Regions from separate parts of the Homo sapiens genome. Here region 1 is linked to region 2. Evidence: promoter capture Hi-C in 16 types of primary human blood cells and fetal thymus (Javierre and others, 2016). All regions are on one chromosome and are shown on one strand. The core of a region is centred on a gene start or on the middle of the fragment in contact, and the rest is flanking DNA. Distances in the headings are between cores, read along the strand shown. Region 1 holds the start of CEACAM5 (CEA cell adhesion molecule 5). Region 2 holds the start of CEACAM1 (CEA cell adhesion molecule 1).

Region 1 (7,480 bases), core at 4,981-7,480, 820 kb before region 2:
GTTTGATGTCCCAGGAGAAGATACATTTAGAGTGTTTAGAGTTGATGCCACATGGCTGCCTGTACCTCACAGCAGGAGCAGAGTGGGTTTTCCAAGGGCCTGTAACCACAACTGGAATGACACTCACTGGGTTACATTACAAAGTGGAATGTGGGGAATTCTGTAGACTTTGGGAAGGGAAATGTATGACGTGAGCCCACAGCCTAAGGCAGTGGACAGTCCACTTTGAGGCTCTCACCATCTAGGAGACATCTCAGCCATGAACATAGCCACATCTGTCATTAGAAAACATGTTTTATTAAGAGGAAAAATCTAGGCTAGAAGTGCTTTATGCTCTTTTTTCTCTTTATGTTCAAATTCATATACTTTTAGATCATTCCTTAAAGAAGAATCTATCCCCCTAAGTAAATGTTATCACTGACTGGATAGTGTTGGTGTCTCACTCCCAACCCCTGTGTGGTGACAGTGCCCTGCTTCCCCAGCCCTGGGCCCTCTCTGATTCCTGAGAGCTTTGGGTGCTCCTTCATTAGGAGGAAGAGAGGAAGGGTGTTTTTAATATTCTCACCATTCACCCATCCACCTCTTAGACACTGGGAAGAATCAGTTGCCCACTCTTGGATTTGATCCTCGAATTAATGACCTCTATTTCTGTCCCTTGTCCATTTCAACAATGTGACAGGCCTAAGAGGTGCCTTCTCCATGTGATTTTTGAGGAGAAGGTTCTCAAGATAAGTTTTCTCACACCTCTTTGAATTACCTCCACCTGTGTCCCCATCACCATTACCAGCAGCATTTGGACCCTTTTTCTGTTAGTCAGATGCTTTCCACCTCTTGAGGGTGTATACTGTATGCTCTCTACACAGGAATATGCAGAGGAAATAGAAAAAGGGAAATCGCATTACTATTCAGAGAGAAGAAGACCTTTATGTGAATGAATGAGAGTCTAAAATCCTAAGAGAGCCCATATAAAATTATTACCAGTGCTAAAACTACAAAAGTTACACTAACAGTAAACTAGAATAATAAAACATGCATCACAGTTGCTGGTAAAGCTAAATCAGATATTTTTTTCTTAGAAAAAGCATTCCATGTGTGTTGCAGTGATGACAGGAGTGCCCTTCAGTCAATATGCTGCCTGTAATTTTTGTTCCCTGGCAGAATGTATTGTCTTTTCTCCCTTTAAATCTTAAATGCAAAACTAAAGGCAGCTCCTGGGCCCCCTCCCCAAAGTCAGCTGCCTGCAACCAGCCCCACGAAGAGCAGAGGCCTGAGCTTCCCTGGTCAAAATAGGGGGCTAGGGAGCTTAACCTTGCTCGATAAAGCTGTGTTCCTAGAATGTCGCTCCTGTTCCCAGGGGCACCAGCCTGGAGGGTGGTGAGCCTCACTGGTGGCCTGATGCTTACCTTGTGCCCTCACACCAGTGGTCACTGGAACCTTGAACACTTGGCTGTCGCCCGGATCTGCAGATGTCAAGAACTTCTGGAAGTCAAATTACTGCCCACTTCTCCAGGGCAGATACCTGTGAACATCCAAAACCATGCCACAGAACCCTGCCTGGGGTCTACAACACATATGGACTGTGAGCACCAAGTCCAGCCCTGAATCTGTGACCACCTGCCAAGATGCCCCTAACTGGGATCCACCAATCACTGCACATGGCAGGCAGCGAGGCTTGGAGGTGCTTCGCCACAAGGCAGCCCCAATTTGCTGGGAGTTTCTTGGCACCTGGTAGTGGTGAGGAGCCTTGGGACCCTCAGGATTACTCCCCTTAAGCATAGTGGGGACCCTTCTGCATCCCCAGCAGGTGCCCCGCTCTTCAGAGCCTCTCTCTCTGAGGTTTACCCAGACCCCTGCACCAATGAGACCATGCTGAAGCCTCAGAGAGAGAGATGGAGCTTTGACCAGGAGCCGCTCTTCCTTGAGGGCCAGGGCAGGGAAAGCAGGAGGCAGCACCAGGAGTGGGAACACCAGTGTCTAAGCCCCTGATGAGAACAGGGTGGTCTCTCCCATATGCCCATACCAGGCCTGTGAACAGAATCCTCCTTCTGCAGTGACAATGTCTGAGAGGACGACATGTTTCCCAGCCTAACGTGCAGCCATGCCCATCTACCCACTGCCTACTGCAGGACAGCACCAACCCAGGAGCTGGGAAGCTGGGAGAAGACATGGAATACCCATGGCTTCTCACCTTCCTCCAGTCCAGTGGGCACCATTTATGCCTAGGACACCCACCTGCCGGCCCCAGGCTCTTAAGAGTTAGGTCACCTAGGTGCCTCTGGGAGGCCGAGGCAGGAGAATTGCTTGAACCCGGGAGGCAGAGGTTGCAGTGAGCCGAGATCACACCACTGCACTCCAGCCTGGGTGACAGAATGAGACTCTGTCTCAAAAAAAAAGAGAAAGATAGCATCAGTGGCTACCAAGGGCTAGGGGCAGGGGAAGGTGGAGAGTTAATGATTAATAGTATGAAGTTTCTATGTGAGATGATGAAAATGTTCTGGAAAAAAAAATATAGTGGTGAGGATGTAGAATATTGTGAATATAATTAACGGCATTTAATTGTACACTTAACATGATTAATGTGGCATATTTTATCTTATGTATTTGACTACATCCAAGAAACACTGGGAGAGGGAAAGCCCACCATGTAAAATACACCCACCCTAATCAGATAGTCCTCATTGTACCCAGGTACAGGCCCCTCATGACCTGCACAGGAATAACTAAGGATTTAAGGACATGAGGCTTCCCAGCCAACTGCAGGTGCACAACATAAATGTATCTGCAAACAGACTGAGAGTAAAGCTGGGGGCACAAACCTCAGCACTGCCAGGACACACACCCTTCTCGTGGATTCTGACTTTATCTGACCCGGCCCACTGTCCAGATCTTGTTGTGGGATTGGGACAAGGGAGGTCATAAAGCCTGTCCCCAGGGCACTCTGTGTGAGCACACGAGACCTCCCCACCCCCCCACCGTTAGGTCTCCACACATAGATCTGACCATTAGGCATTGTGAGGAGGACTCTAGCGCGGGCTCAGGGATCACACCAGAGAATCAGGTACAGAGAGGAAGACGGGGCTCGAGGAGCTGATGGATGACACAGAGCAGGGTTCCTGCAGTCCACAGGTCCAGCTCACCCTGGTGTAGGTGCCCCATCCCCCTGATCCAGGCATCCCTGACACAGCTCCCTCCCGGAGCCTCCTCCCAGGTGACACATCAGGGTCCCTCACTCAAGCTGTCCAGAGAGGGCAGCACCTTGGACAGCGCCCACCCCACTTCACTCTTCCTCCCTCACAGGGCTCAGGGCTCAGGGCTCAAGTCTCAGAACAAATGGCAGAGGCCAGTGAGCCCAGAGATGGTGACAGGGCAATGATCCAGGGGCAGCTGCCTGAAACGGGAGCAGGTGAAGCCACAGATGGGAGAAGATGGTTCAGGAAGAAAAATCCAGGAATGGGCAGGAGAGGAGAGGAGGACACAGGCTCTGTGGGGCTGCAGCCCAGGATGGGACTAAGTGTGAAGACATCTCAGCAGGTGAGGCCAGGTCCCATGAACAGAGAAGCAGCTCCCACCTCCCCTGATGCACGGACACACAGAGTGTGTGGTGCTGTGCCCCCAGAGTCGGGCTCTCCTGTTCTGGTCCCCAGGGAGTGAGAAGTGAGGTTGACTTGTCCCTGCTCCTCTCTGCTACCCCAACATTCACCTTCTCCTCATGCCCCTCTCTCTCAAATATGATTTGGATCTATGTCCCCGCCCAAATCTCATGTCAAATTGTAAACCCCAATGTTGGAGGTGGGGCCTTGTGAGAAGTGATTGGATAATGCGGGTGGATTTTCTGCTTTGATGCTGTTTCTGTGATAGAGATCTCACATGATCTGGTTGTTTAAAAGTGTGTAGCACCTCTCCCCTCTCTCTCTCTCTCTCTTACTCATGCTCTGCCATGTAAGACGTTCCTGTTTCCCCTTCACCGTCCAGAATGATTGTAAGTTTTCTGAGGCCTCCCCAGGAGCAGAAGCCACTATGCTTCCTGTACAACTGCAGAATGATGAGCGAATTAAACCTCTTTTCTTTATAAATTACCCAGTCTCAGGTATTTCTTTATAGCAATGCGAGGACAGACTAATACAATCTTCTACTCCCAGATCCCCGCACACGCTTAGCCCCAGACATCACTGCCCCTGGGAGCATGCACAGCGCAGCCTCCTGCCGACAAAAGCAAAGTCACAAAAGGTGACAAAAATCTGCATTTGGGGACATCTGATTGTGAAAGAGGGAGGACAGTACACTTGTAGCCACAGAGACTGGGGCTCACCGAGCTGAAACCTGGTAGCACTTTGGCATAACATGTGCATGACCCGTGTTCAATGTCTAGAGATCAGTGTTGAGTAAAACAGCCTGGTCTGGGGCCGCTGCTGTCCCCACTTCCCTCCTGTCCACCAGAGGGCGGCAGAGTTCCTCCCACCCTGGAGCCTCCCCAGGGGCTGCTGACCTCCCTCAGCCGGGCCCACAGCCCAGCAGGGTCCACCCTCACCCGGGTCACCTCGGCCCACGTCCTCCTCGCCCTCCGAGCTCCTCACACGGACTCTGTCAGCTCCTCCCTGCAGCCTATCGGCCGCCCACCTGAGGCTTGTCGGCCGCCCACTTGAGGCCTGTCGGCTGCCCTCTGCAGGCAGCTCCTGTCCCCTACACCCCCTCCTTCCCCGGGCTCAGCTGAAAGGGCGTCTCCCAGGGCAGCTCCCTGTGATCTCCAGGACAGCTCAGTCTCTCACAGGCTCCGACGCCCCCTATGCTGTCACCTCACAGCCCTGTCATTACCATTAACTCCTCAGTCCCATGAAGTTCACTGAGCGCCTGTCTCCCGGTTACAGGAAAACTCTGTGACAGGGACCACGTCTGTCCTGCTCTCTGTGGAATCCCAGGGCCCAGCCCAGTGCCTGACACGGAACAGATGCTCCATAAATACTGGTTAAATGTGTGGGAGATCTCTAAAAAGAAGCATATCACCTCCGTGTGGCCCCCAGCAGTCAGAGTCTGTTCCATGTGGACACAGGGGCACTGGCACCAGCATGGGAGGAGGCCAGCAAGTGCCCGCGGCTGCCCCAGGAATGAGGCCTCAACCCCCAGAGCTTCAGAAGGGAGGACAGAGGCCTGCAGGGAATAGATCCTCCGGCCTGACCCTGCAGCCTAATCCAGAGTTCAGGGTCAGCTCACACCACGTCGACCCTGGTCAGCATCCCTAGGGCAGTTCCAGACAAGGCCGGAGGTCTCCTCTTGCCCTCCAGGGGGTGACATTGCACACAGACATCACTCAGGAAACGGATTCCCCTGGACAGGAACCTGGCTTTGCTAAGGAAGTGGAGGTGGAGCCTGGTTTCCATCCCTTGCTCCAACAGACCCTTCTGATCTCTCCCACATACCTGCTCTGTTCCTTTCTGGGTCCTATGAGGACCCTGTTCTGCCAGGGGTCCCTGTGCAACTCCAGACTCCCTCCTGGTACCACCATGGGGAAGGTGGGGTGATCACAGGACAGTCAGCCTCGCAGAGGACAGAGACCACCCAGGACTGTCAGGGAGAACATGGACAGGCCCTGAGCCGCAGCTCAGCCAACAGACACGGAGAGGGAGGGTCCCCCTGGAGCCTTCCCCAAGGACAGCAGAGCCCAGAGTCACCCACCTCCCTCCACCACAGTCCTCTCTTTCCAGGACACACAAGACACCTCCCCCTCCACATGCAGGATCTGGGGACTCCTGAGACCTCTGGGCCTGGGTCTCCATCCCTGGGTCAGTGGCGGGGTTGGTGGTACTGGAGACAGAGGGCTGGTCCCTCCCCAGCCACCACCCAGTGAGCCTTTTTCTAGCCCCCAGAGCCACCTCTGTCACCTTCCTGTTGGGCATCATCCCACCTTCCCAGAGCCCTGGAGAGCATGGGGAGACCCGGGACCCTGCTGGGTTTCTCTGTCACAAAGGAAAATAATCCCCCTGGTGTGACAGACCCAAGGACAGAACACAGCAGAGGTCAGCACTGGGGAAGACAGGTTGTCCTCCCAGGGGATGGGGGTCCATCCACCTTGCCGAAAAGATTTGTCTGAGGAACTGAAAATAGAAGGGAAAAAAGAGGAGGGACAAAAGAGGCAGAAATGAGAGGGGAGGGGACAGAGGACACCTGAATAAAGACCACACCCATGACCCACGTGATGCTGAGAAGTACTCCTGCCCTAGGAAGAGACTCAGGGCAGAGGGAGGAAGGACAGCAGACCAGACAGTCACAGCAGCCTTGACAAAACGTTCCTGGAACTCAAGCTCTTCTCCACAGAGGAGGACAGAGCAGACAGCAGAGACCATGGAGTCTCCCTCGGCCCCTCCCCACAGATGGTGCATCCCCTGGCAGAGGCTCCTGCTCACAGGTGAAGGGAGGACAACCTGGGAGAGGGTGGGAGGAGGGAGCTGGGGTCTCCTGGGTAGGACAGGGCTGTGAGACGGACAGAGGGCTCCTGTTGGAGCCTGAATAGGGAAGAGGACATCAGAGAGGGACAGGAGTCACACCAGAAAAATCAAATTGAACTGGAATTGGAAAGGGGCAGGAAAACCTCAAGAGTTCTATTTTCCTAGTTAATTGTCACTGGCCACTACGTTTTTAAAAATCATAATAACTGCATCAGATGACACTTTAAATAAAAACATAACCAGGGCATGAAACACTGTCCTCATCCGCCTACCGCGGACATTGGAAAATAAGCCCCAGGCTGTGGAGGGCCCTGGGAACCCTCATGAACTCATCCACAGGAATCTGCAGCCTGTCCCAGGCACTGGGGTGCAACCAAGATCACACAAATCCCTGCCCTCATGAAGCTCATGCTCTCATGGGGAGGAAGACAGACATACAAAGAGATCTAGAATGTGAGGTCAGGTGTTGACAAGAGCCCTGGAGGGAATAGAGCAGGGAAAGGTCAGAAAAGGAAGACCCAGGGTCTCTAGAGGAGGTGTCAGGGAAGGGATCTCCCAAGAATGCCCTGATGTGAGCAGGACCTGAAGGCAATGGGGAGGGAGCCGTGAAGACCCCTGGAAAAGCAGATTCCACACAGGGAAATGCCAAGGTCAGAGGTGCTAAGGAAATAGGAGACACACTGCTGACCTTGACCTAGTAGGACACACACACACACACACACACACACACACTCACTCACTCCAGGGCTGGGGGATGAAGAGACCTGCTCAGGACCCAGGACCCCATTTTTCCACCCTAATGCATAGGTCCCAATATTGACCGATGCTCTCTGCTCTCTCCTAGCCTCACTTCTAACCTTCTGGAACCCGCCCACCACTGCCAAGCTCACTATTGAATCCACGCCGTTCAATGTCGCAGAGGGGAAGGAGGTGCTTCTACTTGTCCACAATCTGCCCCAGCATCTTTTTGGCTACAGCTGGTACAAAGGTGAAAGAGTGGATGGCAACCGTCAAATTATAGGATATGTAATAGGAACTCA
Region 2 (6,566 bases), core at 1-2,500:
TTGACGGTTGCCATCCACTCTTTCCCCTTTGTACCAGCTGTAGCCAAAAAGTTGCTGGGGCAGATTGTGGACAAGGAGAAGAACCTCCTTCCCCTCTGCAACATTGAATGGCATGGATTCAGTAGTGAGCTGGGCAGTGGTGGGCGGGTTCCAGAAGGTTAGAAGTGAGGCTAGGAGAGAGGAGAGAGCATCAGTCAATATTGGGACCTATGCATTAGGGTAGAAAAATGGGGCCTTGGGTCCTGAGCAGGTGTCTTCACCCCTCCACCTTGGAGTGTGTGTGTGTGTGTGTGTGTGTGTGTGTGTGTGTGTGTGTGTCCTACTGGGTCAAGGTCAGCAGTGTGACTCCCATTCCCTTAGTGCCTCTGACCTTGTCATTTCTCTGGAATGCCCTTCCCCAGGGATCCGCATGGCTCCCTCCCCACTGCCCTCAGATCTTGATCACATCAGGGTGCTCTTGGGAGATCCTTTCCCTGACACCTCCCCTAGAGACCCTGGGTATTCCCTTTCTGACCTTTTTCTGCTCTGTTCCCTCCAGGGCTCTTGTCAACACCTGACCTCACATTCTAGATCTCTTTGCTTGTCTGTCTTCCCCACCCATGAGAGCGTGAGCTCCGTGAGGGCAGGGATTTGTGTGATGTTGGTTGCACCCCAGTGCCTGGGATAGGCTGCAGACTCCTGTGGATGAGTTAGTGAGCATTCCCAGGGCTCTTCATGTCCTGGGGTTTATTTGCCAATATCTGAGGTTGGTGGCTCAGGGCTCTGTTTAATGCCCCTTTTAAAATGTTTTCCTTAATTGTCACGCTGACTTAAATTGTGATTATTGTCAGCAGTTTTTGAAATTTATTGCTCATTGATGATTCAGTTGGAAAAGGTAAAAAATGGGAGATTGTTTATTCACTAACAGTTTCAGATCACTGAGACTTTCCTTTTATGATCTCTATCCCTTTCATGTCCTCTCTCCTATTTGGCTCCAAGAGAAGCCCTCTGTCCCCTCTTAGAGCTCCATCCTCCCCAGAGGACCCTAGCCATTCTCTGTGCGCCCTCTTTCCGCCCCTTCCCAGGGTGTCCTCCCCTCACCTGTGAGCAGAAGCCCCTGCCAGGGTACACGCACTCTGTGAAGTGGGGCTGAGAGGTGCCCCATGGTGTCTCCTGCTGGCCCTGTCTTCACCTGTGGAGGAGAGCTTGGGCTCCAGGAACGCTTCGAGCACGGCTGCTCTGTCACCTCTGCTGTTTTCCACTCTCTGTGCTGAGCCTCCTCCCTGGGGCCCAGAGCTTTGTCTGATCATGTGTGCTGGGGCGGGGTTTGTCCAGGAAGCTCTGTTTCCTCTCCTCTCATTCCTACCTTTGTCCTTACTTTCTCTTTCCTTTCTGTCTACATTTTGGTTTCCCAGACCACACTTTGAGAATCAAGGCTGATGAGACCTCTGTCCCCATCAGGGGAGGAGGATCCCCCCTCTCCAGCACTGACCTCTATTGTGTCCTGGCTATGGGTCTGTCAGCAGCACACAGAGAACCCTGGCATATCCAAATGTGGTAATTATTTTCTTTGCAACACAGTGAGCTGCCAGGTCTCCCCATGCTCTTCAGTGTGCTGGGAAGGTAGGAAGACACCCAGCAGGAAGGTGACAGAGGTGGCTCTGGGGGATGGAAAGGGGCTCACTGGGGGATGACTGGGGAGGGACCAGCCCTCTGTCTCTAGTGTCACCAGCCTGGCCTCTAACCCAGGGACAGAGACCCAAGTCCAGGGGTCTCAGGTGGAGCTGCAGCTCCCGGATATGGAGGGGGAGGTGTCCTGTGTGTCCTGGGAAGAGAGGACTGTGATAGAGGGAGGTGGGTGGCTCTGGGCTCTACTGTCCTTGGGGAAGACTTCAGGGGGACCCTCCCTCCCTTGAGCTGAGGCTCAAGGCCTGTCCATGTTCTCCCTGACCATCCTGGGTGGTCTCTGTCCTCTGCGAGGCTGATTGTCCTGTGGTCACCGCACCTTCCCCACAGGTGGTGCCAGGAGGGAATGGGGAGCTGCACAGGGACCCCTCACAGAACAGGGTCCTCAGAGGACCCAGGAAGGGACAGAGCAGGTACATGGGAGGGCCTGGAAGGGTGTTTTGGAGCAAGGGATGGAAAGTGGGCTCTACCTTCACCTCCTTAGCAAAGCCAGGTTCATGACCAGGGGAATGTTTCCTGAGTGTTGTCTGTGTGCAATGTCTCCCCCTGGAGGGCAAGACAAGGCCTGCAGCCTTGTCAAGGGCTGCCCCAGGGATGCTGACCAGGGTCTACATGATGTGAGCTGGCCCTGACCCCTGGGCAGATGTGGGCTCTGACCTCCAGGCTTCAAGGTCAAGTCACCCCAGGTCCTGTTCACTGCGGGTCCCCAGGCTGCCCAGCTCCATGCGGTGCAGGATGAGCCCAGGGAGAGGACGTGAGTTGTCCAGAGGACTTCTGTCAAGATTGGAGAGAACTGTCCACCAGGGGGATGGGCTGCCTTAGAAGGAGCCATCTGTCCCAGAGGTTTGAAAAACAAAAGCAAAAACAAAACAAAACAAAAAAACAAAGGCCCAGTGAGGTGCCTTTGGGGGCTTGAGAATGAAATCCTGTCACATGTGGCAACATGAATGGAAGTGGGCTAGGAACAGAAAGTTAAACATCACATGTTCTTACTAATATGTGGAACCTAAAAACAGTTGATCTCATGGAAGGAAAAAGTAGAACAGAGCATACCAGAGGCTGGGAAGGGTAGAGGAAGGGAGGGACAGGGAAAGATGTGTTAAAGGATATAAAATTACAGCTAGATAGGCCGGGCACAGTGGCTCATGCCTGTAATCCCAGCACTTTGGGAGGCCGAGGCGGGTGGATCATGAGGTCAAGAGATTGAGACCATCCTGGCCAACATGGTGAAACCCCGTCTCTACTAAAAATACAAAAAATTAGCCAGGTGTGGTCGTGGGCACCTGTAGTCCCAGCTACTTGGAGGCTGAGGCAGGAGAATCACTGGAACCCGGGAGGCAGAGGTTGCAATGAGCCAAGATTGCACCATTGCACTTCAGTGTGGCGACAGAGTGAGACTCCATCTTAAAAAAAAATAAGGCCAGGCGCGGTGGCTCACGCCTGTAATCCCAGCACTTTGGGAGGCCGAGGCGGGTGGATCATGAGGTCAGGAGATCGAGACCATCCTGGCTAACAAGGTGAAACCCCGTCTCTACTAAAAATACAAAAAATTAGCCGGGCGCGGTGGCGGGCGCCTGTAGTCCCAGCTACTCGGGAGGCTGAGGCAGGAGAATGGCGTGAACCTGGGAAGCGGAGCTTGCAGTGAGCCGAGATTGCGCCACTGCAGTCCGCAGTCCGGCCTGGGCGACAGAGCGAGACTCCGTCTCAAAAAAAAAAAAAAAAAAAAATACAGCTAGATAGGAGGAGGAATAAGTTCTAATGTTCTATACCACTGTAGGATGACTACAGATTTTTTTTTTTTTTTGAGACAGGGTCTGGAGTACACTGCAGCCTCAACCTCCTGCGATCAGGTGATCTTCCTGCCTCAGTCTCCCATGTAGCTGGAACTATAGGTGCACGCCACCACGCCTGGCTAATTTTTTGTTTTATTTTTCAATTTTTTTTTAAATAAAGAGACAGGGTATCACTATGTTGCCCAGGCTGGCCTTGAACTCCTAAGCTCAAGTGATCCTCCGCCTAGGCCTCCCAAAGTTCTAGGATTACAGCCACCATGCCCAGCCAAGTGTTTTGATTTTTTTGTAGAGACTGATCTTATTATGTTGGTCAGGCTGGTCTCGAGCTCCTGGGCTCAAGCAATCCTCCCGTCTCGGCCTTCCAAAGTGCTAAGATTATAGGTGTGACCCACTGCAACCGGCCTGACTATAGTTAACAATAATATATAGTTCCAAGTAGCTAGAAAGGGGATATTGAATGTTCCTAACACAAAGAAATGCTAAATGTTTGAGATGATGGATATGCTAATCACCCTGACCTTATCACTGTACCTTATATGTATCACATCGCTATGGACCCATAAATATGTACAATTATTAGGTGTCAATTAAAAAATACAATTAAAAAAGTCATTTAGAGCTAAATCATGATGTGAAATGTTGTTTTCTTACCTCTCATCTCATGACAACACTTGGCAATGGCAAAACATCCTCAGGAGTTGTGGCTGTGTGCTTTACTGCACAGACCAGTTTGTTTGTGAGAATGTGTCACCTAATGCGAGTGAACCTACATGAGATCATCACCCTTCCTGGGGGACCTCAGAGAAGAACTGAGAACCGCTGGCTCAGGTGTGTGGAGGAGGTTGCAGGTGAGTCACTTGCTGGAAGGAAGGTCTGTGGGCCAGCTTGAGGAGGAATCCATTTGTAGAGGCCACTGGATGGGGCCACCTGGGCCTGGGTGAAGAGGGCCTGAGGGCACAGGACAGGGGGAGAGAGAAGGTGGTGCACATCGTCATGCAGGCAAGTGCTTTAAGTGTCTCTTCATTCATTCATGGCAGGCAACTCACACTTTAACATAGCAACTCAGCAAATAAAATGAGGATATTGACTGGGCGCGGTGGCTCATGCCTGTAATCCCAGCACTTTGGGAGGCTGAGGTGGGTGGATCACCTGAGGTCAGGAGTTCAAGACCAGCCTGGCCAACATGGTGAAACCCCGTCTCTACTAAAAATACAAAGATTAGCTGGGCGTGGTGGTGGACACCTGTAATCCCATCTACTCTGGAGGCTGAGGCAGGAGAATCGCTTGAACCCAGGAGGCGGAGGTTGCAGTGAACCAAGACTGCGCCATTGCATTCCAGCCTGGGTGACTAGAGCGAAACTCTGTCTTAAAAAAAAGAAAAAAAAATATTTTTTCTACTTAGTTCAAGTTCCTAAAAAGGTCTCCAGATTGCCAGATTTCCCTGGAAGCAGGTCAGGGAATGGTCCCCATTAAGAACTATTGAAATACATTAACAAAAAATAAAGACAGATAGAATAGCTGAAACAGTCTTGAAAAAGAAAACTGGAGGACTCACATTTCTTTCTTTCTTCTTTTTTTTTTTGAGATGGAGTTTCACTCTTGTTGCCCAGGCTGGAGTGCAATGGCACGATCTCAGCTCACCGCAACCTCCGCCTCCCGGGTTCAAGCGGTTCTCCTGCCTCAGCTCCCGAGTAGCTGGAATTACAGACATGCACCAACATGCCCGGCTAATTTTTTGTATTTTTAGTAGAGACGGGGTTTCTTCATGTTAGTCAGGCTGATCTCGAACTCCCGACCTCAGGTGATCTGCCTGCCTCAGCCTCCCAAAGTTCTGGGATTACAGGCGTGAGCCACCGCGCCTGGCCAGGACTCACATTTCCTTATCCGAAAACTTACTATATGGTGGGTACAGTGTGCCTTGCTCCAGTGACGAATGCACTGAAGGCCTTGACTTTACCACAATGCAATATATCAGAATAGCAAAATTGGACTTGTACCCTATGATTATGCACATTTTTTAAAAAAGAAAATTTACTACAAAGTTACTGTAATCTGAAGAGTGTGGAACTGGCATAAAGATACACTTACACCAGTGGATTAGATTTGACAGTCTGGAAGTAAACCCTCACATTTACAGTCAGTTGATCTTTGACAAGGGTGCTGTGGTTTTTTAGGTGTCAATTTGCCTGGATTAAGAGACACCCTCATAGCTGGTAAAGCCTTGTATCTGGGTATGACTGTCAGGGTGTTTCCCGAAGAGACTGGCATTGGAGTCAGTGAACTCAGTAAGGAAGACCTGCCCTCACTCACTGTGGGTGGGCACCATCCACTTGGCTGAGGGCCTGGATAGAGCACAAAGGCAGAGGGATGGTGAATTCTCTCTTTCTCTCTCCTGGAGCTGGGACACCCTTTTCCTTTTGTCTTTGGACATTAGAACTCCAGGTTGTTTGGCCTTTGGCCATGGACTGAGGGTACACCATGGCTTCTTTGGTCAGAACTGAGCCATGCTGCCAGCTTCCCTGGTTTTCCAGCATGTAACTGGCTAATCATGGGACTTCTCAGCCTCCGTATTCACACAAGCCAATTCCTCTAACAAATCCCCTCATATATTTAGATCTATTTCTATATCTACAACTATATCTTTATCCCGTTTTCTCTGTCTCTCTGAGGACCCCGACTAGTACAGGTGCCAAGTTAATTGAATGGAGGAAGAATAATCTTTTCAAATAATGATGCTGGGACAACTGGATAACCACCTGCAAAGAAATGAAATTTTGGAACTCTATTTCTCACCATATTCAAAAATTAAAACAGATCAATGAGTTAAGTATAAGAGCTAAAATCATAAGAAACTCTCAGAAGAAAACATAAGGATAAGTCTTTATCACCTCAGATGTGGCAATGGACTTTTTAGATATGACACAAAAACATGAACAACAAAAGGAAAAATAAACTGGACTTTATCAAGATGAAAGCCTTTTGTGCATCAAAGGACATTATCAAGAAAGTGAAAAGATCACCCACCGAATGGGAGAAAAAATTTGCAGACCATTATATGAATAAGGTTTTATGTCCAGAAAATATAAAGAACTGCTACAACTCAATAAT

What was found. Contacts are between HindIII fragments. The CHiCAGO score rates a contact against its expected background, and 5 or more counts as called.
Region 1: a contact is called between the fragment with the promoter of CEACAM5 here and the fragment with the promoter of CEACAM1 in region 2, in 3 of 17 cell types (neutrophils, erythroblasts and naive B cells). The highest score is 11.5, in neutrophils.

Annotation. Positions count from the first base shown.
Region 1 is chr19:41,702,396-41,709,875 of GRCh38, forward strand. CEACAM5 (CEA cell adhesion molecule 5) reads left to right here and starts at 6,231. Exons shown (of 10, transcript NM_004363.6): 1 at 6,231-6,400; 2 at 7,285-7,480. The coding sequence starts at 6,337. RefSeq lists silencers at 4,352-4,471, 4,492-4,541, 4,572-4,621. The HindIII fragment of the contact is 18,236 bases long and covers 1-7,480 here.
Region 2 is chr19:42,527,231-42,533,796 of GRCh38, forward strand. It overlaps CEACAM1 (CEA cell adhesion molecule 1), which reads right to left and starts at 1,251. Exons shown (of 9, transcript NM_001712.5): 1 at 1,081-1,251; 2 at 1-170. The coding sequence starts at 1,144. All of the region lies in intron 2 of LIPE-AS1 (LIPE antisense RNA 1), which reads left to right. RefSeq lists enhancers at 1,259-1,328, 1,551-2,413. The HindIII fragment of the contact is 21,112 bases long and covers 1-6,566 here.